Regions from separate parts of the Homo sapiens genome. Here all the other regions are linked to region 4. The links are contacts of gene promoters, found by promoter capture Hi-C in blood cells and fetal thymus (Javierre and others, 2016). All regions are on one chromosome and are shown on one strand. The core of a region is centred on a gene start or on the middle of the fragment in contact, and the rest is flanking DNA. Distances in the headings are between cores, read along the strand shown.

Region 1 (3,792 bases), core at 721-3,220, 670 kb before region 4:
CACAGATAGCAAAGCCCATAGGTGGGAAAACAAAATTAGGTTGTAAGCACAAAGGCATTTAAATAGTAATGCAGAAGGGAGTGGCAACAGTCACAATGAGCAGGCTACCACCCAGTAACTGTACAGTCACTTAAGTTTAAAATGTATCTTCTAAGCCAATATCTTATATCAAGACATCCTATTAAAAGGTGAGACAAGTACTCCTGTTCCTGTTTCACGTGGGAAAACTAAGATCAAGTGAGGCCCTGAGTGACCGTGGATTTTCCTGAGGTCACATGGCCAGTGAGGAGGCAGGACTAAACCCAGAACCTCCCAACTCTCCTCTTCACACCCTGGAAAAGCCTAAACTATATTCTCTCAGCACAGAAATGCTGTATCTTCTATTTATTATCACCAGCAGTAAGATTGGGGGCTGGGAGAGAGTTGAGGGCTATTTGGGGAATCTGTATGAACAAAAGATGGGAGACAGGACAAGTTTTCAGCACCTCCATAAAACATTTCCTTAAAAATGTCACAGGTTCCCTTATCTCAAGTGCAAGGCACTAAGCAAGAAAGTTCCTTTCCCCTGGCCATTCCTCCTGCCTCGTCTTCCTCCGATCCTCCCCTTCATTCTCACTGGCCTGTCCCTGCTAACATTCTCTTTACCTCAAACATCCTACATGTTGCCTTGATCCTATTCATGCTGTACACTACTGCCAGTCAATACTTCCTAAAGCATTCTTTAGTTTTTTTTTAGAATGCATTTTTTTCTTTTTGTGGGGGAGGGGTTCCAGTGAAAACTGGAAAACCTGCTAGACAAATTCTAAAAGAGCTGTAACACTTAGAATGCATTTTTAGAATACAGAATACATTCTTTTGACTTTCTTCAAAAACTTTTTTGTTTGTTTGTTTGTTTCGTTGTTTTTTGAGACACAGTTTCGCTCGTTGCCCAGGCTAGAGTGCAGTGGCGTGATCTTGGCTCACTGCTACCTCCACCTTCCGGTTTCAAGCGATTCTCCTACCTTAGCCTCCCAAGTAGCTGGGATTACAGGCAACCACCACCACACCTGGCTAATTTTTGTATTTTTAGTAGAGACGGGGTTTCAACATGTTGGCCAGGCTGGTCTCGAATTCCTGACCTCGTTATCCGCCCACCTTGGCTTCCCAAAGTGCTGGGATTACAGGTGTGAGCCACCGTGCCCAGTCTTTTCAATAACTTTTAATGGTTAGTAAATACAAAGTCCACAGGCAAATATTCAAAAGCCTCCACAATCAGGAGCAAGCTATGTTTCCAGCTCTTGCTCTTGGCCCAAGACCCTGGCCAACTATTTCCATAGGCCATTCCCAGGCTCCCATCTCCACACCTTTGCTTCCAGCCCTCTCAGCCTCCTCTCCATTGTGGCTCCACCTTCATCCAGCCCAGTCACCACTCAAAGCCCAGAGCAAATGCCATCTCTCCCTCTCTGCCTACCTGCTTAGGGAGCGACACTCTCCCAGTCCCCGGGCACCCTGTGCCTCCCACATGGTATCTCAGTCTGACACTGTCCAGATCTCCCCTCCTCGACCTATCCATCTGCTGCTGCTAAAGGCAGAGGCCACCTTATACATCTCTGTATCCCCAAGCTTCACATAGAAGACTCTAGGTCGAATTCTACAGCACTGGTTCCTATTTTGTTTTATAATGTGTTTAGATTTTCCTTCCTTTACTAGACGTAAGCTCCTAGAAGGAAGGAGATCCATTCCTAATTCATCTTTTATTTGTGATGGCACCTAGCACACTTCTTTGTACACAGTAGGCATGTAATAAATAGGTGCTGAATAAATCAATATTTTTTTTTCTCTAATACAGTCCCAAGTACCAGGAAACTGTGGTAAAAAGTTTGCTCTGCCCACAAAGATAAACAGATAACATCAAATGTTTACAGTACAGGAAGAAGAGGACTTCTCGTTACTTCTCAAGGACTTCATCTTCATAGAAAAGAAAAGTTCTATGGGACCGCCTGACTCCCTGGAGAGACCCCAGGTCAGAGAAGGCACATACCTGACATAGAGTGAAATGGGCACAACGGTGTTGAGGATGATGATGTAGGACCAGAAGGAGAGGAAGCCAGAGAAGAAGGCACTGTCCACTGCCTCATCCCACGGCAGGTAGACCTGGAAACGCATCCCCACCTCGTGCTCCCAGATGGCATTGCCAATGGCCAGGATCACCCCCATGCAAACCAGGAATCCAAAAATCTGGGGAGGAATGAGAAGCACAGGCGAGGCTGACATGTAGGAAGCCCTCAAAACCAAGTGCATCTGTGATGTATTCATCCCTTGAGCCCTCAAAAGCTCAGATGCTCTAGTGCAAGCTTGTCCAACCCATGGTCTCTGGGCCACATGTGGCCCAACACAGATTCATAAACTTTCTTAAAACACTATGAGATTTTGGTAACAGCTGAATGTTAAATGAAAAATAATTATAAAAAAAAAAAAAACTATTATGGGCTGGGCGCAGTGGCTCAAGCCTGTAATCCCAGCATTTTGGGAGGTTGAGGCGGATGGATCACCTGAGGTCAGGAGTTTGAGACCAGCCTGGCCAACACGGTGAAACCCCGTCTCTACTAAAAACATTAAAAAAATTAGCCAGTCCTGGTGGCACTTGCCTGTAGTCTCAGCTACTCAGGAGTCCAAGGCATGAGAATTGCTTGAACCCGGGAGGCAGACATTGCAGTGAGCCAAGATCATGCCACTGCATCCCAGCCTGGGCAACAGAGCAAGAACCTGTCTCAAAAAAAAAAAAAAAAAAGGCCAGGTGCAGTGACTCACACCTATAATCCCAGCACTTTGGGAGGCCAAGGCGGGCAGATCATGAGGTCAGGAGTTCGAGACCAGTCTGGCCAACATGGTGAAACCCCATCTCTCATCTCTACTAAAAATACAAAAAAATTAGCCGGGTGTGGTGGCGGGCACCTGTAATCCCAGCTACTAGGGAGGCTGAGGCAGGAGAATCACGTGAACCCGAGAGGCAGAGGTTGCAGTGAGCCGAGATAATGCCATTGCACTACACTCCAGCCTAGTGACAGAGTGAGACTCCGTCTCAAAAAAAAAAAAAAAAAATTTATGAGATTTTTTTTTGCAATTTTTTTTTTCTAAGCTTATCAGCTATTGTTAATGTTAGTGTATTTTATGTGTGGCCCAAGACAATTCTTCTTCCAATGTGGCCCAGGGATGCCAAAATATTGGACACCACTGCTCTAGTGGAAAAAGCTCAGAACTGGTGACAGGTTCTAGTCTGTCACCAATTATCATGTGGCCTTCTGTCTGACCATTATTTCATCTATATGATGAAGAAACTGAAATAGTTGATTAGCTCTCAATCTGGCACCTTGAAACCTTCCAGAGTCCTCAAAGTTGGTAAGAGTGGGGATGAGCTACTTTTAACATACCAGAAAACTTACTGTAAATAATCTATTCACCTGGGCTAGGTACAAGCCAACAAAAATGCCAAGCCACGGTAATGTTCACTATCTCACATAGATGGCCTTTTTTTTTTTTTTTTGAGATGGAGCCTTGCTCTGTCGCCCAGGCTGGAGTGCAGTGGCGCGACCTCGGCTCACTGCTGCAAGCTCCACCTCCCGGGTTCACGCCATTTTCCTGCCTCAACCTCCCAAGTAGCTGGGACTACAGGTGCCCGCCACCACGCCCAGCTATTTTTTTGTATTTTTAGTAGAGATGGGGTTTCACCATGTTGGTCAGGATGGTCTTGATCTCTTGACCTCGTGATCCACCCACCTCGGTCTCCCAAAGTGCTGGGATTACAGGCGTGAG
Region 2 (3,795 bases), core at 1,044-3,543, 650 kb before region 4:
AATAAAACAATGGCTACTCCATAGACAGAGCAGCCCCGAGGGCTGCTGGTTGCCCATGTTTATGGTTGTTTCTTGATGATATGCTAAACAAGAGGTGGATTATTCATGCCTCCCCTTTTTAGACCATATAGGGTAACTTCCTGTCATTGTCATGGCATTTATAAACTGTCATGGCATGAGCCACCATGCCCGGCCATGACCTGTATCTTATGGCAACCTCCTATCTCATTCTGTAACTTAGAATGCTTTAACCATCTGGGAATGCAGCCCAGTAAGTCTCATTCTCATTTTACTCAGCTCTTGTTCAAAATAGACTTGCTCTGGTTCACGTGCCTCTGACATTTCCCCCCTTCCTTTTATAAGAGAAGCACTAATCCTAAGGGTTGCAGAGGGACGAAGGTCCATCTTCTGTAAGTTCTTCAGGATGAATAGGGGCGATGATATTTTTGCCTAACTCTTAGAATCTCTCATATTCGTGGTAGAGAGGAGCTCAGTTGGAAAGTGTTGGTATGGGCCAGGCGGGATGGCTCATGCCTGTAATCCCAACACTTTGGGAGGCTGAGGCAGGCGGATCACCTGAGGTCAGGAGTTCAGACCAGCCTGGCCAACATGGTGCAACACTGTCTCTACTAAAAAATACAAAAAAAATAGCCAGATGTGGTGGCGGGTGCCTGTAACCCTAGCTACTCAGGAGGCTGAGGCAGGAGAATCTCTTGAACCTGGGAGGCGGAGGTTGCAGTGAGCCAAGACTGTGCCATTGCACTCCAGCCTGAAAGAATGAAACTCCATCTGAAAGAAAAGAAAAGAAGGGAAGGGAAGGGAAGGGAAGAAAAAGCATTGGTATCTTGAGGGCCATTCATAACTCATGAGTTCTGACAAAAGGTGATACTCTGGAAGATTCATAAGTGTTCAGTTTAAGGAAACATTCAGTAAGCTTGTCCTCCATTCCTATACAAAGATTACAACAGCTATACATTCCACAACCATAAAGCAAAATAAGTAAAATTATCCCAAGTAAACTAAACTAGAAGGCTTTCCATGAACTGAGGAACTGTTGGAACCACGCTGATATGAGGTTGCTAGATGATTCCAGTACATGCCCAGAATTAGAATATTGATGCAGATTTTTACATTACCCATCCCTCTTGTTTCTTCTGAGCAGCAGTCAGAGGCCACTGGTTGGTTCACAGGACTAAGCAGGGTTAGCCTAAATTGCAGAAACAAACTTAAAGACAACTGATGAGACTGGAATTTAATAACAAGTGTATCATAGTTCTTGAAACATAATTTTTCTCTCTCCAGTTTCCCATTTTTATGAAAGACCATTTTTATGGTAAGACCAATGTGCTTTATTATACTTGGCCTGATGATTGTATAAAGTGCAGCAAGAATAATTATTTTTCACGTAGGCTTTTAAAATTGGCTTTGATGGAACTCTGTTCCATAGAAAGAATCTTGGATAAGACTTTTTAAAGCTGAGCCCTGCCATGGGTTTGTGCCCTCAAATACCTTTGAGTTGGGTAAATTCTTCCTCTCCTTTTGAGGTCCCCAGATAACTTGGGGCTCCTGGACCTTTTAGAAGGTGACATTCTTTACTTACCACAGGTCAGAAACCCTGTACAGGGACTGTGTAGGCAAGGTTATGAGCCCAGGTCGCTAAGTGGCTTTTATAGGCTTTACAAGTCAAGTTTGATTCCTTAATGGAAAGCACACCATTCCAGTCAAACCCTTCATAAAATAAACAATTTCTCCAATTGTGTCCTGTTGCAAAAGAAAACAGATTCTTATTACCCTTATGCAAATAACTGCATTGCCATAAATTAAGAATACACACAAATAATTTCCAAATTCTGGAGAAATCAAGTAGAGAGATGCATATACTCCAAATTTTGTTCACAGGAGTATACTTTACTCGATTATTAAAAGCTGTAAATATCTGAAAAGAAAAGTTGCCTTGACTCTAAAAAATAAAACAAAGGATCAGCAATGTTTTAAGCAAAGGCAAAAAGATTGCTTTAGTCTTCTTTAGTTTATGCAGTTAACTTTTGTTTGATATCTATGAACATTTCAGCTCCCCATGAGAGTTCTGAAAGTTGTTTCCTCTATTCTAATGTCACAATCTCCAAAGTTATCAGAAACCTGCATTTAAGTGCACCTGTTAAAGTCCTATGGCTGATTATAAACTACCTTCTAAAGAAGATCAAAACAAGACAACAATTGTCTGTGGATGATAAAAAGTCTTAGGGCCAGGTGCAGTGGTTCACATCTGTAATCCCAGCACTTTGGGAGGCGGAGGCAGGTGGAACATTTGAGGTCAGGAGTTTGAGACCAGCCTGGCCAACATGGTGAAACCCCGTCACCACCAAAAATCCAAAAATTAGCCGCATAGGGCAGGTGCCCATAATCCCAGCTACTCAGGAGGCTGAAGCAGAGGAAGTGCTTGAACCCAGGAGGCAGAGGTTGCAGTGAGCTGAGATCGTGCCACTGCACTCCAGCCTGGGTGACAGAGCAAGAATCTGTCTCAAAAAAAAAAAAAAAAAAGTCTTAGGACAGCCACTAGTAAAGCCACAATTAACTAGGAAATTTTGGTTACTTCTGTTGCATACAAAATTTTATGTAACAATTATTAATAACATACGCTAAGTCATATTAGAATTATAGGAATTTCTCATAATTTTGGAACATGTACCAATAACACATTTAATCTAATGCTCCAAAGTAGATAAACTGAACAATTTTTTTTGTTGTTGTTGTTTTTTGTTTTTTGGGTTTTTTTGTTTTTTTAAGACAGAGTCTCCCTCTGTTGCCCAGGCTGGAGTGCAATGGCATGATCTCGGCTCACTGCAACCTCTGCCTCCTGGGTTCAAGTGATTCTACTGCCTCAGCCTCCTGAGTAGCTGGAATTACAGGTGCGCACCACCATGCCTGGCTAATTTTTTGGTATTTTTAGTAGAGATGGGGTTTCACCATGTTGGCCAGGTTAGTCTTGAACTCCTGACCTTGTGATCTGCCTGCCTCAGCCTCCCAAAGTGCTGGAATTACAGGCGTGAGCTACTGCACCCAGCCTAAAATTGAACAATTTTTAATAGTCAAAGAAGCAGCTTATGACCTTAAAGAATTTAGCAAACTTAATATCTGACCTGTATAATTTAGACCAAATGTTTACATTTTTTTTTGTTTGTTTGTTTGTTTCTTTTTAGTCAGAGTCTCGCTCCATCACCCAGGCTGGAGTGCAGTCGCTCAATCTCGGCTCACTGCAGCCTCTGCCTCCCGGGTTCAAGCAATTCTCCTCCCTCAGCCTCCCAAGTAGCTGGGACTACAGGCTTGCACCACTACACCTAATTTTTGTATTTTTAGTAGAGATGGGGTTTCACCATGTTGGCCAGGCTGGTCTCGAAATCCTGAGCTCAAATGATCTGCCCGCCTTGGCCTCCCAAAGTGCTGAGATTACAAGCATGAGCCACCGCACCCGGACAAAATGTTTACATTTTTGAAGATTTTTTATTTTACCAATAATCTTTAAAACTGTATTTATTTCCCAAAGATTACTTAAGTCACATGAACTAAATAAAGGGTATTCCACTTTTTACTTTTCTGATAAAATGTTTGATTTAAGCAATTCTTATTGTTAAACCAATTAATTAAAGCTTTTCCATATATAAACATTACACACATAATACATATAAATACACAGACAGACAGAAGATAAGGATCATCCCCTAAACTGGGAATTGGACTTTAAACCAGGGCTGCCATTATGAAAAGAGAAAGCATGGCCACATGGTTACAAGGTCA
Region 3 (4,243 bases), core at 570-3,069, 610 kb before region 4:
GGCCACCACTCTTTTTTTTTTTAAATATTTATTTTTTATTTTATATTTTGAGACGGAGTCTTGCTCTGTTACCCAGGCTGGAGTGTATGGTGCAATCTCGGCTCACTGCAACCTCTGCCTCCCGGGTTCAAGTGATTCTCATGCCTCAGCCTTCCGAGTAGCTGAGATTACAGGCCCGTACTACCTTGCCTGGCTAATTTTTGTATTTTTAGCAGAGACAGCAAGTTATCCGCCCATCTTGGCCTCCCAAAGTACTGGGATTACAGGCGCGAGCCACCACTCTCGGCCTTTTTTTTTGAGACAGTCTCACTTTGTTGCCCAGGCTGGAGTGCAGCAGCATGGTCATGGCTCACTGCATCCTTGACCTCATGGGCTCGACAACGTCCCACCTCAGACCCCTGAGTAGCTGGGACTACAGGCATGCACCACCATGCCCAGCTAATTTTTAAATTTTTTTGTAGAGACAGGGTTTCCCTATGTTGCCCAGGCTGGTCTCAATTGATCCTCTCCGCTCAGCTTCCCAAAGTGCTGAGATTACAGGTGTGAGCCACTGTGACTGGCCCCAGATTTGCCCCTCTTAACCACAGTACTAAAAGCTTTTGTTGTTGTGATTGGGTCTCACTCTGTCGCCCAGGCTGGAATGCAGTGGTGTGATCATAGATCACCGCAGCCTCGAACTCCAGCCTCCAGGGATCCTCCTGTTTTAGCCTCCTGAATAGCTGAGACTACAGATGTGGGCCACCATGCTCAGCTAATTTATTTATTTATGTTTTTTGAGATGGAGTCTCGCTCTGTCAACCAGGCTGGAGTGCAGCAGCACAATCTCAGCTCACTGCAACTTCCACCCCCTGGGTTCAAATGATCCTCCCGCCTCAGCCTCCTAAGTAGCTGGGATTACAAGTGTGCACTACCACACCCAGCTGATTTTTGTATTTTTAGTAGAGTTGGGGTTTCACCATGTTGGCCAGGCTGGTCTCGAACTCCTGACGTCAAGTGATCTGCCCACCTTGGCCTCCCAAAGTGTTGGGATTACAAGTGTGAACCACAGTGCCCAGCCTGCTTGAACTCCTGACCTCAAGTGATCCACCCGCCTCAGCCTCCCAAAGTGCTGGGATTATAGGTGTGAGCAACGATGCCCAGCCTGCTCAGCCAATTTTTAAAAAATATTTTGCGGGGCGTGGTGGCTTACGCCTGTAATCCCAGCACTTTGGGAGGCTGAGGCAGGCGGATCACAAGGTCAAGAGATCGAGACCAGCTTGGCCAACATGGTGAAACCCTGTCTCTACTAAAAATACAAAAATTAGCTGGGCGTGGTAGCACGTGCCTGTAGTCCCAGCTACTCGGGAGGCTGAGGCAGGAGAATCACTTGAACGCGGGAGGCAGAGGTTGCAGTGAGCCGAGATTGCGCCACTGCACTCCAGCCTGGGTGACAAAGCGAGAGTCCATCTCAAAAAAAAAAAAAAAAAAAAAAATATATATATATATATATATATATTTTAGAAATAGGATCTTGCTATGTTGCCTCCGCCTCCTGGGCTCAAGTAATCCTCCTATCTCAGCCTCCCAAGTAGCTAGGATGATAGGTACAGTCTAACACACCTGGTTAAAAACTTTTATAATGAGAAAAGGAAGCCTGGGCAACATGGCAAAACTCCGTCTCTACAAAAAATACAAAATAATAATAATAATAAAAGGAAAAAAAACGAGAAAAAAAATTAGCTAGGCATGGTGGTGTACGCCTGTAGTCCCAGCTACTCAGGAGGCTGAGGTGGGAGGACTGAGCCCAGGTCGAGGCTACAGTGGGCCAACATCGCCCCCTACACTCCAGCCTGTGTGACAGAATGAGACCCTGCCTCAAAAAGAAAAAAGGACCTAGTAACGTTTGTGCCAGGTGTATTTTCTCTAACATACATAACAATTTTTTGAGATGGAATTTCGTTCTTGTTGCTCAAGCTGGAGTGCAATGGCATGATCATGGCTCACTGCAACCTCCACCTCCTGAGTTCCAGCAATTCTCCTACCTCAGCCTCCCAAGTAGCTGGGATTACAAACATGTGCCACCACATCTGGCTAATTTTTGTATTTTTAGTAGAGACAGGGTTTCACCGTATTGGTCAGGCTAATCTCGAACTCCTGACTTCATGTGATCCATCTGCCTCGGCCTCCCAAAGTGCTGGGATTACAGGCGTGAGCCACCACACCCAGCCACATAACAACTTTTTAAGGCCAGTAAAGTAAGGGAAATTTACCCATGTGCTTCCCCAGTTACTTCATGAACTCTCCAGTCAGTGATCCCACACTCAGGGAAGCAGTTAACCCCTACTTCCACACCCACACCCTTTTTTTGGGAATCTGATGTATCCCTCTCTAGAAATTTTCCTGAAATTATTTCTAGTCATCTCCTCAGTAAGAAAAATCATTTTTCTTTTTCTTTTCTTTTCTTTTTTTTTTTTTTTTTTTTTTTTGAGATGGAGTTTCACTCTTGTCGCCCACGCTGGAGTGCAATGGCGTGATCTCGGCTCATTGCAACCTCCTCCTACCAGGTTCAAGCGATTCTCCTGCCCTAGCCTGGGATTACAGGCACCCGCCACCATGCCCAGCTAATTTTTGTATTTTTAGTAGAGACAGAGTTTCACCACATTGGCCAGGCTGGTCTTGAACTCCTGACCTCAGGTTATCTGCCTGTCTCAGCCTCCCAAAGTGCTGGGATTACAGGCATGAGCCAACGAGCCCGGCCTCTTTTTTTTTTTTTCTTGCTTGAGAAAGAAAAATCATTTTCTACTTGTGCCTGACCCTTACTTATGAAATCAGGTTTTAGATGCAGAATAAAAAATTAAGGAATAAGGAGAAGGCAGAGGACCAAGATAATTTCGGAAGTGTTGGATGGTTCTAGAAACTGAAATAGCCTTGACAAAACCAAGACAAAAAATTAGCATAAATAAAGGTTTTATTGGTCAGTTTGGGTGAGTGACAAACTGACATGGCCCCAGTTCACTATTCCACATATCCAAGCCCCTGAGGTGGCAAGAGAAGCTAAGCTTATTAATGGTGGGCAATGGGTGAGAGGTGGAAAGGACTTGAAGGCCTCTGAGGGTTAACAAGGCTACCGGGACCGGAACCAACGTCCCAGGAATAAGTCCAGGATGGAAAAGGCATCATCCAGGGCTGGAGGTCTTGGTGATTCTGGATCTAAGGAAGAAAGTCATACACGTAAATAGGCTAAATGAAAGAGACTAGGCAGAAGCAAAGGACAAGGGTAGAAGAGTAAGATTTCCCTTCCCCAAGGAATCTTGAGATGAACCCCTTTGTCTTTTAACTTACCACCCCTAGGACTGCTATCTGCTTCGTGTCGGGTTACTGTAGTCTCTGTCCGGCCCTCACTGTCCACCACAGTCCGGCGCTCCTCCACTATCTACAAAGAGAAGTCCCCACCATATTCCGAATGTTACTAAAGGTTATGCTCAGCAGTTTCTTTACACAGATCCCTGTTTCAGGGCATTCGTTCCCTGGCCATACTTTCCTTTACCTCTTTCTTTCAACTCACCCCATCTGGTTTAGTGATCTTGGTCACAGAGATGCTCTTGAAATAGGATTTGGGCTGGGGCTGTAGAACCGGGCCAAGACCCTCCTGGGAAACCTGGGAATCAAGATCTGGAAGAGCAGAGAGATGAAGAAGCAGGAGAGAAAGAGTCCAAAGGAAAAAAGGAGACAAGTGTACAGGAAGAAACTTCAGGGAGGGAGAACACACAGAACTTCAGAAGAATAACAAAAGGCTGGTAAACTTCCCCTTCCTCCAGACTTACCATTGTCCTCTCTGGTTCTAGGATGGGGGTCCATAGGCCATACATCATCAAACTGCAGAAGAAACCATAGTAAGTGAAAAGACTCCTTCCAATCTGAAATTTGAAAGGTCATAGACCTCAAACTACTCCCGAGCTCCAAAACCCCCTTCCACAGAAGAGATAATTCCATTCAGAATAGCCTTATTTACACACTCCTTCCTGGCTGTTTTATGTATCCTTCTACCAGAAAGACTTCCTGAACTGATATATTCCTATCCTCTGTGCACAATCCTGCCTTATCCAAGAATTATCTAGACCAGTGGTGTTTTTTTGTTTTTGTTTTTTAAAAGAAACAGAACACCCATCTCCCCCCAAAGAAAATCCCACAAGCTTAATATAGAAAACAGAAAACACTAAATGGAGGGCTTAGGATTCCAACCCAAGGCTATCAGATTCAAACA
Region 4 (3,976 bases), core at 1,045-3,544:
AGAAACCCTGTCTCTACTAAAAATACAAAATTATCCAGGCATGGTGGTGCATGCCTGTAATCCCAGCTACTCGGGAGGCTGAGGCAGGAGAATCACTTGGACCTGGGAGGCAGAGTTTGTGAGCCAAGATCACGCATTGCACTCCAGCCTGGGCAACAAGAGCGAAACTCTGTCTCAAAAAAAACAAAAACAAAAACAAAAACAAAAACAAAAACAAAAACAAAACAAAGACTAGCCTTGACAACATATAAAGTACCCCATCTCTACAAAAATAAATAAATAAGTAAGCCCGGGGCCAAAGGAGGTGGCTCACACCTGTAATCCCAGCACTTTAGGAGACAGAGGCAGGAGGATCACCTGAGGTCAGGAGTTTGAGACCAGTCTGGCCAACATGGTGAAACCCCATGTCTACTAAAAATACAAAAATTAGCTGGGCAGGGCCGGGCATGGTGGCTCACGTCTGTAATCCCAGCACTTTGGGAGGCCGAGGCGGGCAGATCACTAGATCAAGAGATGGTGACCATCCTCGCTAACACCGCGAAACCCCGTCTCTACTAAAAATACAAAAAAAAAAAAATTAGCTGGGCGTGGTGGCGGGCGCCTGTAGTCCCAGCTACTCGGGAGGCTGAGGCAGGAGAATCGCTTGAACCGGGGAGGCGGAGGTTGCAGTGAGCTGAAATAGCGCCACTGCACTGCAGCCTGGGAGACTCCATCTCAAAAAAAAAAATAAAATTAGCTCGGAGTGGTGTGGCCTGTGCCTTTGAGTAGTCCCAACTACTAGGGAGGCCGAAATGGGAGAGTCTCTTGAGGCCAGGAGGTTGAGGCTGCAGTGAGCTATGATGGTGCACCACTGCACTCCAGCCTGGGCAACAGAGTGAGACCCTGTGTCTAAATAAAATGAAATAATAGAAGAGAGGGTAAGAGACAAAGAGATTACTGGGGGAAAAGTCTAACCCGTCTTTATTTGGAGTTCAGGAACGAGGGAAATAATAGGTAAAACTAATACTTGAAGAGATAATAGCTGATAAATTTAATAAATGGACGACAAACCTGAAGCCATTGATTCAAGAAGCTCAACAAACCTCAAGTAAGATTTTTTTTTTTTTAAACGGAGTCTCCCTCTATCGCCCAGGCTGGGGTGCAGTGGCGCCATCTCAGCTCACTGCAACCTCCGCCTCCCGGATTCAAGAGATTCTCCTGCCTCAGCCTCCTGAGTAACTGGAATTACAGGCGCCCGCCAGCACGCCGGCTAATTTTTGTATTTTTAGTAGAGACGGAGTTTCACCATGTTGGCCAGGCTGATCTCGAACTCCTGACCTCGGGTGATCCACCCGTCTCGGCCTCCCACAGTGCTGGGTGGCCACAAGCCACCGCACTCGGTCCGCTTTTTGTTTGCTTGTTTTTTAAAAATTAATAATATTTATTTTAATCTGGATGGTGGTTACGTGGCCAGAATACGTTTAGACTTAAGATGTTTACGTTCTGCTGTAGTAAATTAAATATCGAAAAAGTACTTATGGAAGGGAGGTAGGTGAGGGATAAAAGTCTACAAGTTGGGTTCAGTGTATACTGCTCGGGTGATGAGTGCACCAAAATCTCACAAATCACCACTAAAGAATTTATGTAACCAAGCTGGGCGCTGTGGCTCACGCCGGTAATCCCAGCACTTTCGGAAGCTGAGGCGGGTGGATCACCTGTTTCCATGGACATGGAAAACCATGTTTTCCACACTAATTCAATCAATATACTCCTCTCCTATCTAAAACCTGTTTCTCCTGCTTCGAGTTTGTAGACGTGCAGTGTTCATAGTTGCCTAAACTCCCTTTTCCCCATCAACTTCAACTGCTAGTGGCAAAAATAGCTGATATTGGTTGCATTTTTGAGGTAGGAAAATTGGCAAGATATTTTCCTTCACTAAAGAAACGTAGATTACGTATGCCGTACAGGGCAATGAAAAAACTCCGATAGCAGAGGATGGTTTCGATCCATCGACCTCTGGGTTATGGGCCCAGCACGCTTCCGCTGCGCCACTCTGCTATCTAGAACTAAAATTTCTCATGATTGTTATAGAACACTACGTAGTCGTTGTCCTGACTTCTTTAGTGCCACCTAATGTCTGATCAAAAATTCGTCATTACTATAGAACCAGTTCTTATTGGCTAGTTCCTGACACAGTAGGCGTTTTTTATTGGTTCATAAGCCCGGTTTGACAAAGTAAGCCAATAGGCATAAGCGATGGGGTAAGGCGGGAGCCAATCGCACCGGGTTTTATTGGGACACGCCGGCAAGACGCCTCTTCAGTTGTCTGCTACTCAGAGGAAGGGGCGGTTGGTGCGGCCTCCATTGTTCGTGTTTTAAGGCGCCATGAGGTAAGTGGGTCGAAGCGGTCGAAAGGTTTCAGGTATTCGACGGAAAACTTTGTGAACGTGGGCCGAAAGAAGTCGGAGTATCAGAAAGGGCCATGTATCCGGGGGCTGGCCAAAAACCTGAGAACTCCTGGTCTAGGATAGTGGGAGAGATGGAGGCCGGTAGAGGCGGGGAAACTTGGGCCCGGGATGGGGTTCGGGCCCAGGAGTGGGGAGGGGGGTTCGACACCTTTGTCTCTGAAGGGTTGCGATGAGGGGGTGTCCTCAAGCCCCTGGAGGAGCTCCCCACCTTTCCCCCGCCCCCGTCATCCGGGCTGAGAATGCTGGAGCGAGCCGCATTCATCCTCAGTGCGAAGGCCTTGACATTAGGACACGCCCGATAAATGTGTACCTTAGTGAAGAAATGAGCAATCTTTAGCCTCCGAAGTATTAGGATTCGTGTGGCCCAGGATTATGGGTTATTAAGTGTAGGGCTCACTGAGCCCCATCATTACTTGATGGGGGTTGGATTAACTTAGAGGAGGTTATGGGGGTGTAACTGGGCACCATTTGGAATGGGGACAAGTGTAAGTGTGAGTGGGGTCTCTTGCCTACCGTTGGGAGGTTCCGAGGGATGAAAGTAGCCAACCTAAGATGATATGGCCGGTGGGTATTCCTTCAATGAGGTCAAAATAAAATCTGCATTTCTAGGGGTGACAGAGGCCGTGGTCGTGGTGGGCGCTTTGGTTCCAGAGGAGGCCCAGGAGGAGGGTGAGTACCAGCTTTTAGCATCTCTGCACTTGGTTGTTAGTTTCTGCTTGTCATCTAAATAGGAGTTTTAGAGTAGACTAATGTCACTTGGTTTTGCGAGAGCCAACTGTGGTCTTTTCCTGCACTCCTGTTAAATGAATTTGGCCCCACTATGCTAAGAATGATTCTTTCCCTCCCCGGAGACTTTGTCACTCATTCTGAGGACTGACATGTTTTCAAAATTGTTGGCGTGTTATTTACATCTCGCTTGATTCCTACCTAGGGAATAATTTGGCTGTTTTTCATGTTTTAGGTTCAGGCCCTTTGTACCACATATCCCATTTGACTTCTATTTGGTGAGTACCTTGGGTTAATGATACACATTTTCTGGTCACTGTTGAAATGGAGCCCAGTATCTCCCAGTTAATGAAGTTAGATGGTGGTTGAAGAGGGCAGACACAGTGCCTCACGCCTGTAATCTCAGCACTTTGGGAGGCCGAGGCAGATGGATTACCTGAAGGTCAGGAGTTTGAGACTAGCCTGGCCAATATGGTGAAACCCCGTCTCTACTAAAAATAAAAAAGTTGGCTGGGCATGTGTCTAATCCCAGCTACTTGGGAGGCTGAAGCAGGAGAATTGCTTGAACCCGGGACGCGGAGGTTGCAGTGAACCAAGATGGCACCACTACAAAAAAAAAAAGATGGTTGAAATAGGGAGGGAAAGTGATTTGTGAAAAGATTTGGGGTTTTGAGTCAACTGTGTGTTGCTTTACATACAGAAACAGTGTAAGCATGGTGGGGAGAATAATTCCTTGGCTACTGTTGGCATTAAACATGATTATAATCTTTGTTCTGAACAAGTAATTGTATTTATGGTATATC
Region 5 (3,707 bases), core at 1,040-3,539, 590 kb before region 4:
GCTACCTATCCTGATGCAAGTTGACTACAGTTTGCTTAGTGAAATTAGCTCCTTACTAACTGTTCTAGAATCTACTAATGAAGTCAAGAAATGGTAGTTTGGAGGAAGAAAAAGGGACAATGGCAGCAGGGAATGAATGAATCTGAGTGAAGCAAAGCTGTATGGTATCATATTCTCCCTTTGGCAAATTCTAAGACTAGGCAATCCCTATCCTAATTCCACCAATTCCAGCCCCATTCCCCCACCACCCTGCATCAGGCCAAAAACAGGCCAGAGGTGGAAACTGTTCCTCCTCATCCATTATTAAAGTCATTGACCCTTAAAAGCAGCTAGGATAGTGTCCAGGGCTAGGATCCTTCACCACAAGGAGTGACCAAAGCCAGGTACTCACAGGGAACACAGCAGGCCCATACTGGAAGGTGCTGGGGAGGCCCGGGACCCCTGTATAGTATGGCAGGCTGGTGTAACTGTAGCCAGGAGGCAGCGCCGGGTTCAGGAATGTCTGCTGCGTGGTATGGTGAGTCTGCGTCTGGTTCTGTTGGGGTTGGGCCAAGGTTGTGGCCGGGGCTGGGGAGGAGGCATCCCCACGGCCGAACTTTGTGAGGTCACCTGTGACAGGAGAAGCTAAATGTACCTGCCTCTTTCACCCCAATACCAATACAGAATTACCTCTTCTGATTTCACATGATTCCAGGAGATCCTGTTCAAAGACTATTAAAGTTCAATTCCTTGAATTACATTTCTTAGTGGCTCCAATTATTGTTGCTCAGCATACACTTAGCACAGTTGCTGCAAGTCAAGGACTAATGTTGAATAACTGTGCAATGCTATGGCAGGAGGCTCTTGGAATAAGGCACCTGCACAATTTCTCTGCCCACTTGTGTTCTCTTTCATCTTCCCTCTTCTTCCCTCCCCTCTTCTCCTCCATGGGGAATACCCCATGCTGGACTTGAAGGACAACGATGGATCAGGGAAAACGGTAAGTCAATGAGGACAATGATAGGTCAGGTAAAAGAAGGAGTGGCAAGGCAGTGAGATTGCCACTGTGAGTAGTAGCATAAAGGGGCAGAGATGAGCAGAGAAGACCACCTCAACCACTGTATTTCCTGGAAAAAGCTAGCAAATGGCTTGAAACTAAGTCAAGATATCACTTTTTTTGGAGATGGGGTCTTGCTATGTTGCCCAGGCTGGTCTTGAACTCCTGGGCTCAAGCAATTCTCCCACCTTGGCCTCCCAAGTAGCTGAGACTACAAGTGTGTGCTACCATGCCTGGCTAAGATATCATCTAGAAATCACAGGGAGACAACACAAAGTGGGATGAATAGGAAAAGCCATGACATGCCCAACTTTAGCAGGATTTTGAATCTACCAATCCTGATTTATCACATCCCTTCTTGCTACCAATCAGGTGTCTGCCATCAATCCCAACACTATCTCCCTTTTTATTTATTTAGTCCCATCCCAATCCTACCAGAATAAGGGTTGCTGGCCAGGCTACCATCCCTCCCAGTCAGCGGAGTAGTGGGTGTGGGAAATGGGATGCTGTAGTAATCCTAGAAAAGAGGGGAAAAAAGAGCAGAGATTCAATGTCACTCATTCCCCAGCATGAGTACTATTTCCACGGAGGAAAAAACAGAAGAATGTGAGAGTTGTGCAATTTATCCAGTCACTAATTAAGCTGGCTAGAGTTAGCACAAACTCCACATTACTCTTGCATACACTGTCCCCCCTGCCTGGCCATGAGCACAGTCAGACAAGGTCTACGGGTATGCCCACTTGAGAATACATCAAAGTCCACGAGGACCAATATTTTCAACCCTCTAGGTGTCATCCCTATCAGTTTATACCAAGCTTATTCTACTGAGAAAACAGATCATTCGATAATTTAAAGTGTCTGGGACAAACAGAAAGCACCCTGAGTGCTCCAGAGTACTTTACTGGGCTATAGAATAGGTTAAAATGTATTTACTAAGATGCCACAACTCTGATTTAAAAAAAGAAAAAAAAAAGGCTGGGTGCGGCGGCTCATGCCTATAAGCTCAGCACTTAGGGAGGCAGAGGCGGGTGGATCATAAGGTCAGGAGTTCAAGACCAGCTTGGCCAAGATGGTGAAACCCCGCCTCTACTAAAAATACAAAAAAAATTAGCTGGGGGTGGTGGTGGGCACCTTTAATCCCAGCTACTCGGAAGGCTGAGGCAGACAATTGCTTTAACCCAGGCGGCGGAGGTTGCAATGAGCCAAGATCACACCACTGCACTCCAGCTTGAGCGACAGAGAAAGACTCTGTCTCAAAAAAAAAAGTTATCTTCTGTTGGAAACCCTCCCCCAAATCCCTATATTCTAATATGCCTTAAATCAGAGTGTATGGAGGGCTGGGATGGGAAAGAGCTATGTCTGTGACGGAGATAATTCTCCCAACACTAATTTTAAGACTACTTTCTTTTCCAAAGCTCTATCCCACATACTCACCAATGGAAATCTTGTCTGAAGCATCTGCAAGTCATCATAACCATATACTTGTGGCTGAAAGATACAGACATATAGCAATAACAGGAACTGGTCATGATGTTAGCAAAACAAGGAGCCAAGAGACAAGCTAATTCAACAGAACATTCATCCTCATTCTGGGTTAGAACAGGACACGGATTATTTCCTTCAATTTTATTTAAGGAAAAAGCAGTAAAGTACACAGAGATTAAATGATTCATGAAAGGTCTTGAAGCTTTCCTTGAGCTAAATACTACTGATTCTAGTAGGCTGGCTTCTTGATACCAATAGAGTAGACACAAAACATACACGAACAACCAGTTTTACTCTCTATTCTACAAGTCTCTGTCTCTTATACTCTTCAAAATCTGGCTTAAAAATAATCTCCTCTGGAAAGAATACTTCACTTTTCTCCAATGTCAGGGTTTTAAGGTAGTGACCACAAATTAAAAATGTGTAACTGTGTTATTTGGATGTGTCATCGGTATGAAATTTATCTAGACTTTGTCTATGAGGGCAGGAACAGGTATCTTCTAAAACGTTTCCATATATCCTTCATCTTAATAGGTACCAAATACTTGAAGGTCACAGAAGATACACTAGGGCAAAAAGCTACTAATGTCAGCCACTTATTCTCAAAGTCCCAGATTGAGTCAGGAAACTTTCCTCTAACCAGGCCAGACCAGCAAACACACTCAGAGTTAGGGATTTAATCAAATCAGAGAAAATAATTCTTGGGGCCAGGAGTAGTGGCTCAGGCCTATATATAACCCCAGTTATTTGAGAGGCTGAGGCAGGAGGACTGTCTGAACCTGGGATTTTGAGACCAGCCTAGGCAACATAGGAAGACCCTGTCTCTAAAAAAATTTTTAAAACTTAGCCAGGCATGGGGATGCACACCTGTAGTCCTAGCTACTTGGGGAGTCTGAGGTGAGAGGATTGCTTGAGCCCAGGAGTTCAAGGCTGCAGTGAGCTAGCTATGATCGTTCCACTGTACTCCAACCTGGGTAAAAGAGCAAGATCTGCCTCAAAAAATAAAATAATAGTCATAATTATCTAAGAAACCAAAAAGGATTCCAGATGAACATTCTGGCCTTTGGCTTCTGAGGCCCAGAAGCTGTGTTTCAAACAGGGCAGATATTCTCATCACACATATACATACACATTGTACGCACACACACACATGCATACATGTGTGCACCATAAACCAAAGCAGATA
Region 6 (3,839 bases), core at 981-3,480, 540 kb before region 4:
GTGGGTGACAGAGCAAGAGTCTGTCTCGAAAAGATGAAAGGTCCTAGTAAAAACTGCTTAGAAGGCCAGCTGCAGTGGTTCGTACTTGTAATCCCAACACTTTGGGAGGCTGAGATGGGTGGATTACTTGAGCCCAGGAGATTGAGACCAACCTGGGCATCATAGTGTAACCCTGTCTCTACTAAAAATAAAAAAATTAGGCCAGGTGTGGTGGCTCACGCCTGTAATCCCAACACTTGGAGAGGCCGAGGCGGGCGGTTCATGAAATCAGGAGAGCGGGAACATCCTGGCTAACGTGAAAACCAGTCTCTACTAAAAATACAAAAAAAAAAAAATTAGCCGGGCGTGGTGGCGGGTGCCTGTAGTCCCAGCTACGTGGGAGGCTGGGGCAGGAGAATGGCATGAACCCAGGAGGCGGAGCTTGCAGTGAGCCAAGATCGCGCCACTGCACTCCAGCCTGGGCAACAGAGCAAGACTCCATCTCGAAAAAAAATTAGCTGGGAGTGGTGGCGACCACCTACCTGTAGTCCCAGCTACTCAGGAGCTGAGGTGCGTGTACCACTTGTGCCTGGGAGGCAGAGGTTGCAGTGAGCCAAGATCATGCCACTGCCCTCTAACCTGGGCAACAGAGTGAGACACTGTCTCAAAAAAAAAAAAAAAAAAAACTGCTTAGAGCACTGATGAAAATGAACATGTAGAAAGGCTGGAAAAGGGCATTTGGTCTAGAAGTCAGCAGAAGCCTGTTCAAAATTCACTTTCTTTGAAAGATAAATACTAGATGATTCCAGTTATATGAGATACCTAGGTAGTCAAACTCAGAGACAGAAAGTAGAATGATGGTTGCAGGGGCTGGAGAGTGGGGGAAATAGGGAGTTGTTCACTGGGTATAGTTTCAGTTTTGCAAGATGAAAATGTGGAGGTTGGTTGCACAACACTGTGAATATACTTAACACTACTGAACCATACATTTAAAAATTCTTAAGATGGTAAATTTTATGTTACATGTATTTTACCACAATCTTTTTAAAAATTATTTCTGAAGGCCAGGCATGGTGGCTCACGGCTGTAATCCCAGCACTTTGGGAGGCTGAGGCGGGTGGATCACCTGAGGTCAGGAGTTCAAGACCAGCCTGGCCAACATGGTGAAACCCTGTCTCTACTAAAAATAGAAAAATTGGCTGGGCATTGTGGTATGCACCTGCAATCCCCAGCTACTCGGGAGGCCGAGACAGGTCGCTTCAACCTAGGAGGCAGAGGTTGCAGTGAGCCAAGATTGTGCCACTGCACTCCAGCCTGAGCAACAGAGAAAAAGACTCCATCTCAAAAACAAAAAATTATGTTTGATTTGTAGTTTCTAGGAATGTTCATTGGGTTTAGTGAAGAGTATAGGCTTTGAAATCTGACAAACTTAGGTTTGAATCCCAGGTCTGTCACTTAACTAGTTTTGTGACCTCATACAAGCTAATTATTGGACCCTTAGTTTCCTAATCTGCAAAACAAGGTGATACCTATATTGGGGATACCTGTCTCTGAAAAAAAAGCTTGAGCCAGAGGCAAGAACTCTGGGAAATTGGTTTCTCTGCTGCTAGTTGTTTTTGGTATGAGTAGGTGTGTGTCAGGGTACCCAAACAGGGCCTTTATTCTGTCACCCAGGCTGGAGTGCTGCTACTTTTTTAGGGTGTGTGTGAGAGAGAGAGACAGGGTCTCAGTCTGTCGCCCAGACTGGAGTGCAGTGGCACATTCATGGCTCACTGCAGCCTCGAATTCTGGGTTCAAGCGATCCTCCTGCCTCAGCCTCCTGAGGAACCAGGACTACAGGTGCTTGCCACCATACCTGGCTAATTTTTTGCAGAGATAGGGTCTCACTTTGTTTCCCAGACTGGTCTCAAACTCCCCTGGGCTCAAGCGATCTCTGGCCTCTGCCTCCTGAAGTGCTGGGATTACAGGTATAAGTGACCATGCCCAGCCTCTCTGCTACTTTTTTTTTTTTTGAGATGGAGTCTTGCTCTGTCACCCAGGCTGAAGTGCAGTGGCGCAATCTTGGCTTGCAACCTCTGCCTCCTGGGTTCAAGTGATTCTCTTGCCTCAGCCTCCCGAGTAGCTGGGATTACAGGCACCCGCCACCACTCCCAGCTAATTTTTGTATTTTTAGTAGAGACAGGGTTTCACCATGTTGGCCAGGCTGGTCTCGAACTCCTGACCTCAAACAATCCACCTGCCTGGGCCTCCCAAAGTGCTGGGATTACAGGCGTGAGCCACCGCGCTCAGCCTCTTGTATTTCTAAGCTACTAGATGGGGTTTTAGTAACTAGTTTACAAAATAGGACAGATAGGACACAAATAACTATTTGTGACTATTGCTGCATTTATGGCCTGGGATAAGCCCTGATTTCTTTGATTAGTCCTCATTCTGTCAATGACCTCCCCTCTCTGTTCTTCAGGGTTAAAGCACGAATTGGGAGCTCTCAGCGACATCACCAGTCAGCAGCCAAAGACCTAACTCAGTCCCCTGAGGTCTCCCCAACAACCATCCAGGTGACATACCTCCCCTCCAGTCAGAAGAGTAAACGTGCCAAGCACTTCCTTGAATTGAAGAGCTTTAAGGATAACTATAACACATTGGAGAGTACTCTGTGACGGAGCTGAAGGACTCTTGCCGTAGATTAAGCCAGTCAGTTGCAATGTGCAAGACAGGCTGCTTGCCGGGCCGCCCTCGGAACATCTGGCCCAGCAGGCCCAGACTGTATCCATCCAAGTTCCCGTTGTATCCAGAGTTCTTAGAGCTTGTGTCTAAAGGGTAATTCCCCAACCCTTCCTTATGAGCATTTTTAGAACATTGGCTAAGACTATTTTCCCCCAGTAGCGCTTTTTTCTGGATTTGCATTCAGGTGTTATTCTTAATGTTTCTGTCAAAGCTTCTTAAAAATCTTCACTTGGTTTCAGCCATAGTTCACCTTCCCTGTTCCAGGTTTATTTAATTCCAAAGGTGAGAGTTGGAGTGAGATGTCTTCCATATCTATACCTTTGTGCACAGTTGAATGGGAACTGTTTGGGTTTAGGGCATCTTAGAGTTGATTGATGGAAAAAGCAGACAGGAACTGGTGGGAGGTCAAGTGGGGAAGTTGGTGAATGTGGAATAACTTACCTTTGTGCTCCACTTAAACCAGATGTGTTGCAGCTTTCCTGACATGCAAGGATCTACTTTAATTCCACACTCTCATTAATAAATTGAATAAAAGGGAATGTTTTGGCACCTGATATAATCTGCCAGGCTATGTGACAGTAGGAAGGAATGGTTTCCCCTAACAAGCCCAATGCACTGGTCTGACTTTATAAATTATTTAATAAAATGAACTATTATCAAATAAAACGTATGAATCAGTCCTTTATAGTTGTCTTTTAATAAAACAGGCATTTGATAATGTTATCTGCACATTTCTAACAGGGTATAGGGCATGAGGATTTGCCTCCAGAGAATTGGTGGGACTGTGTGCATACCCTGGACCTACGACCATACACATACTCCTTGGGACCCTAGCACAAGAAATCCTAAAATCAGGACTGTGGCCCTTGCTCATAGATGCCTGTGTCACCAACAGAAGGCTGCAGAACAAGGATTCTCTCAAGGTTTCTGGGGCAACAGGCCAGGTGGCCAATCAACTCCTAGGCCCAGGGTTATTGTTGGAGGTGTAAATGTTACTATGACTACTGAAACCTTGGTTACTGAACTAAACAGAGGAGCCTGTCAGTCTCCTCAGACTGTATCAAGCAAATCTATAGACATGTCTGTGGAAAAGATGACAAAAGTAGAAGAGGTATGCAGAGTTGGAAGGAGGGGCT
Region 7 (4,027 bases), core at 141-2,640, 570 kb before region 4:
AAAGCACAGAAAATCCACTCTCCCCTCAATGCCCAACACCATTTATCATTCTCTGAAAGTTGCTTAAGCGGACAAGCCAAATCTCAGAAAGGAACATAATTTGCCCATTTTCACAAAGCAGTCTAGTTCATTGATTATACAATAGAAAATAATCACCCTGTGATGCTGATGCCTCTGAAATTTAAAAAACCCAGAATTGGCAACCAAAACAGTCTTCACATGTCATTTCCTCTTATCACAAAAGCTGTCTTGCCTAACTACATGAAAGTATAGAAAAGTACATAGATTAAAAATGTTAAAACAAGAGTTTATCCATGATCACTGAAAACCATAATTCACAGCAGAAGCTTGACTGTGACCAGGAATCAGCAAAATTCTTACTCAGGTAGTACTCAAATGAATTCACAGAGCTTGTTTACGTGCCACCCATCTATGAGGTTTCCAAGTTAAGTCAAGCTGGCAGATAGCCAATTCTACAGATATTCATCTCAATCACAATTATACAGTTGGGCTTCAAATAAATACAAGGGTTCCAGAGTCAACCAGATTACAAGTTTGAGGATTTGGTACCACAACACTCGCTTTGGATCCACTGCCAATCCATTACAGGACCTTATAGCAAATACTTAAATGCACCAAGTAGTCATGTACCACCAGCAGCTGTTACTCAATGCACTACCTGCCTAACTCCACTTCTGGTGCCCTACCCAACCACCAATCTCTTCCTGGGATAAATCCGACAATCAGATATTGGACTTACACAAGTGCACTTGCCCTTTCCATAGTGTGGTTCCACAGAGTCCTGTTCATGCCCAGTCTCCTTCATATAACATATGTGAAATGTTCTGGCTCAGAACACTATTTTGGATGTAAAAGTTTTGGGTCAGAATCTTAAGGGTGAATTTTGAGGGGTAGAAACATACCCATTTTCTATCCCTAAACAACACTTAGGGATAGAAGGCATTAGTGAGGAATGACCTGGGAATACCTACATCTTCATTCCAATCTTCAGTCCCCCACTCCTCTGTTGCAGTCCTCCATGCACCTGAGAATAAAGAAAAATAGTGAAGTAACTTCACTATTAAATGCCAGTACAAAGCATGTATAGAAAACATCAATGTATTAATTTTTTTGGCAGCCAAAAGTATGACTAAAATTTAGTAATCAGAAGGCCAGGTGTGGTGGCTCACACCTATAATCCTAATACTTTGAGAGGCCGAGGTGGGTGGATCACTTGAGGTCGGGAGTTCGAGACCAGCCTGACCAACATGGAGAAACCCTGTCTCTACTAAAAATACAAAATTAGCTGGGCGTGGTGGCACATGCCTGTAATCCCAGCTACGCGGGAGGCTGAGGCAGAAGAATGGCTTGAACCTGGGAGGTGGAGGTTGCAGTGAGCTGAGATCGCGGCATTGCACTCCAGCCTGGGCAACAAGAGTGAAACTGTCTCAAAACAAACAAAAACAAAAAACAAAACAAAAAAAAAGAAATTCTTGGGCTTCAAAGGTAAGGAAACACTCTTTAGAAAAGGATATCTCAGAGTACCAGGGTTTTAATAAGATTATGATTTCATAGCTACTTTCAGTTTTTGTTACAAAGCAGGAATGGGGGTGGGGGGGGGGACAGACAGACAACCACCCAATGCTCAAAGCAGTATCTTTAAGGTCCTCAGGTTGATTTAGTGGTCAATTCAGTGAAATGGCAGCAGCCAATTTAAACCATAACATGCAAACTACACCTATTTATCTAGTATAAGACAAAAAATACTGTAGGCAGTCTGAAGAAGGATAGTAGCACTGATAGAGAAACACAAATGGTTACCACATAATGGTTAGTGAAAGAGCAGTGAAGAAGGGTGGGTTTGAAACCCGAACTGAGGGCATTGAAAACTATCTGCTATGAGAATTAGATTAAAAATGCATACTCAGCAGAAGTCAAGTTTATAGATCTTATTGGTTTAACTGTATAAGAAAAGCCCCTATAGAGCTGTCCTCTTCAAAAGACAATGAACAAGACTGAAAAATCAGGTATGAATGATAGTTACTGTCCTAACCTTACTCATATAGAACTTGAAACCTGACCTGCTATGGTCATGGCACAGACAACGGGAGTATACACTGTCCTTGTGTTTGTTGGTAATACGGAAGCTGGGATACAGTTTCTACTGGAGAAATCCAAAAGCAATCAAACCACCTTCCACATTCCTTTTTTGTGCTTCATGTATACATATATTTTCAGAAAAAAAAAAATGTCCTTTCTTAAAAAATAAGGGTGAGAATTTCTAACAAGAACCAGGATTCTTCCCTTCAGCCAAAGGCACAGTAAAAACAAGAACCTGTCTGAAGAAGGGACAAGAGCACCCTTATTTTCTTGCTAGAATAATATATATTAAATAACTCTTCAATCCTTCCCTCCTACTGGAAAAAAGCTTATAAGAATGAAATGAAAAGTCTGACATTCAGATGCTGTGCCACTGAAGAGAAGTATTCTAACACCACATTAGAAGTATTCTAATACAAAGCCCATCTAAAATTCTTCTAAACATTTAATAATGCAAAAATCTTCTTTCTTAGAGGAAAATATATTCATTGTAAAGACTTTCCCAGGAAAATATTAAAATTGCACCAGGGAAATCCTAAACCACTTAATAATGACAATATTCTCAAAACCAAAGTCCAATCTCAGTACAGACAAGTTACAAACCACATTCTTTTCTCCTTCATTGATACCACACTTTCTTCTCATTGACATCCATCTTATCCTGGCTCGATGGAATCCAAGTTGCATTAGCACTTATACACAATCCTAGAGTTAGACATGATCTAACAGGTTATTTAATCTAGGCTCTTGATGCAAGAATTTTTTTCTGCACACTGATGACTTCAACTGGGATGGAAAGGAGGAACGTAGACACCTAACTGGTATGTTCCTATTCAGGATATACGGTCATGGCTGAGGAAGAGAGAGAGCTGAGGAAGCATTAAGGAACAGAATAGATGGAAATGCTCTAAACAACAGACTAGGGTTTCCATTCCATTAGCAGAAAGCAATCAGTGTAACTGTCAAATATTCATTAAATGAACAGAAAGGTAAGTGGACACAGAAAAATGAGAGAAAAAGGCAGAAAGAGAAAAAGCAGAAAGACATAAAAATGACATATCCACAGATATTTCAGCTCATAAAAATCTACAAAAATATCTGGGGCAGTTAGGCACCTGGATGTATCATACCAGGAGCAGTCTGGGGGATAATTTTGGGGGATAATTTGACCCCTCAACCCCAATGAAATCAAGTCCTGAAACAAAAAAAAAAGAAAAGAAAAGAAAAAACAACCAGTGAAATTTTGCTTGTAAATGAGAAAGTCTGCCCCAATACATAATCCCCATTGTACCTGTGGATATTTTAAAGGTAGGTTTGGATTTTTTTTTTAATTTAAAGGGGAAACTCAAGTTTGCTATCAGGAAAACACAAAAAGAAACCATGCATGAAGGTATGTTCATATCATGAAATTAACAACGACCAGGCGTGGTGGCTCACACCTGTAATCCCAGCACTTTGGGAGGCCAAGGCAGGTGGATCACTTGAGGTCAGGAGTTTGAGACCAGCCTGGCCAACATAGTGAAACCCCATCTCTACTAAAAATACAAAAATTAGCCAGGCGTGGTGGCGTGCACCTGTAGTCCCAGCTACTCAGGAGGCTGAGACATGAGAATAGCTTGAACTCAGGAGGCAGAGGCTGTAGTGAGCCAAGATCGCACCACTGCACTCCAGCCTGAGTGACAGAGCAAGACTCTGTCTCAAAAAAGAAAAAAAGAAAAGAAAAAAAAAATTAATGACAATGGGAATTCATGAAGCTATAACCAACACTTTTGCACTAACAAGACGATAGTGGCGTCACATTCAGCTACAAATCAGATTTCCAATTCCAGCCTTGCACATCTGCTCCCTTTTCTACTCAGTAGAAATTAACACACACACTACCTTTCGCTGTTTTTCCAACCAGATCCTTACTGAAGACAGCGAAGGC

What was found. Contacts are between HindIII fragments. The CHiCAGO score rates a contact against its expected background, and 5 or more counts as called.
Region 1: a fragment that was not itself captured here is called in contact with the fragment with the promoter of ILF2 in region 4 in 2 of 17 cell types (total B cells and naive B cells); the score reaches 7.3 in total B cells.
Region 2: a fragment that was not itself captured here is called in contact with the fragment with the promoter of ILF2 in region 4 in 1 of 17 cell types (total B cells); the score reaches 6.0 in total B cells.
Region 3: a fragment that was not itself captured here is called in contact with the fragment with the promoter of ILF2 in region 4 in 2 of 17 cell types (monocytes and naive B cells); the score reaches 6.2 in monocytes.
Region 5: a fragment that was not itself captured here is called in contact with the fragment with the promoter of ILF2 in region 4 in 2 of 17 cell types (total B cells and naive B cells); the score reaches 8.2 in total B cells.
Region 6: a fragment that was not itself captured here is called in contact with the fragment with the promoter of ILF2 in region 4 in 1 of 17 cell types (naive B cells); the score reaches 5.4 in naive B cells.
Region 7: a fragment that was not itself captured here is called in contact with the fragment with the promoter of ILF2 in region 4 in 2 of 17 cell types (total B cells and activated CD4 T cells); the score reaches 6.4 in total B cells.

Annotation. Positions count from the first base shown.
Region 1 is chr1:154,335,773-154,339,564 of GRCh38, reverse strand. ATP8B2 (ATPase phospholipid transporting 8B2) reads right to left here. Exons shown (of 28, transcript NM_001370597.1): 12 at 2,021-2,217. It also overlaps the pseudogene RNU7-57P. Among named protein-coding and RNA genes, the nearest start is that of ATP8B2, 12 kb to the right of the region's middle. The HindIII fragment of the contact is 731 bases long and covers 1,605-2,335 here.
Region 2 is chr1:154,314,992-154,318,786 of GRCh38, reverse strand. No RefSeq gene overlaps it. Among named protein-coding and RNA genes, the nearest start is that of AQP10, 4.2 kb to the left of the region's middle. The HindIII fragment of the contact is 2,713 bases long and covers 937-3,649 here.
Region 3 is chr1:154,274,562-154,278,804 of GRCh38, reverse strand. It overlaps HAX1 (HCLS1 associated protein X-1), which reads right to left. Exons shown (of 7, transcript NM_006118.4): 4 at 3,804-3,855; 5 at 3,545-3,651; 6 at 3,322-3,412; 7 at 2,930-3,189. The coding sequence ends at 3,104. Among named protein-coding and RNA genes, the nearest start is that of HAX1, 4.1 kb to the right of the region's middle. The HindIII fragment of the contact is 2,442 bases long and covers 599-3,040 here.
Region 4 is chr1:153,669,311-153,673,286 of GRCh38, reverse strand. It overlaps ILF2 (interleukin enhancer binding factor 2), which reads left to right and starts at 2,294. Exons shown (of 14, transcript NM_004515.4): 1 at 2,294-2,369; 2 at 3,057-3,116; 3 at 3,409-3,451. The coding sequence starts at 2,365. TRX-CAT1-1 (tRNA-iMet (anticodon CAT) 1-1) reads right to left here and starts at 2,037; the gene lies at 1,966-2,037. RefSeq lists enhancers at 1,025-1,074, 1,085-1,164, 1,715-1,854 and a silencer at 1,895-2,274. The HindIII fragment of the contact is 12,664 bases long and covers 1-3,976 here.
Region 5 is chr1:154,257,794-154,261,500 of GRCh38, reverse strand. UBAP2L (ubiquitin associated protein 2 like) reads right to left here. Exons shown (of 27, transcript NM_014847.4): 21 at 2,471-2,524; 22 at 1,472-1,553; 23 at 392-609. It overlaps SNORA58B (small nucleolar RNA, H/ACA box 58B), which reads right to left and starts at 1,774; the gene lies at 1,639-1,774. The HindIII fragment of the contact is 872 bases long and covers 1,854-2,725 here.
Region 6 is chr1:154,206,250-154,210,088 of GRCh38, reverse strand. LTAP1 (lipid transport auxiliary protein 1) reads left to right here. Exons shown (of 7, transcript NM_001098616.3): 7 at 2,441-3,369. The coding sequence ends at 2,636. CFAP141 (cilia and flagella associated protein 141) reads left to right here and starts at 3,756. Exons shown (of 4, transcript NM_001010979.3): 1 at 3,756-3,814. The coding sequence starts at 3,782. The HindIII fragment of the contact is 1,373 bases long and covers 1,544-2,916 here.
Region 7 is chr1:154,238,531-154,242,557 of GRCh38, reverse strand. It overlaps UBAP2L (ubiquitin associated protein 2 like), which reads right to left. Exons shown (of 27, transcript NM_014847.4): 9 at 993-1,045. Among named protein-coding and RNA genes, the nearest start is that of SNORA58B, 19 kb to the left of the region's middle. The HindIII fragment of the contact is 2,081 bases long and covers 350-2,430 here.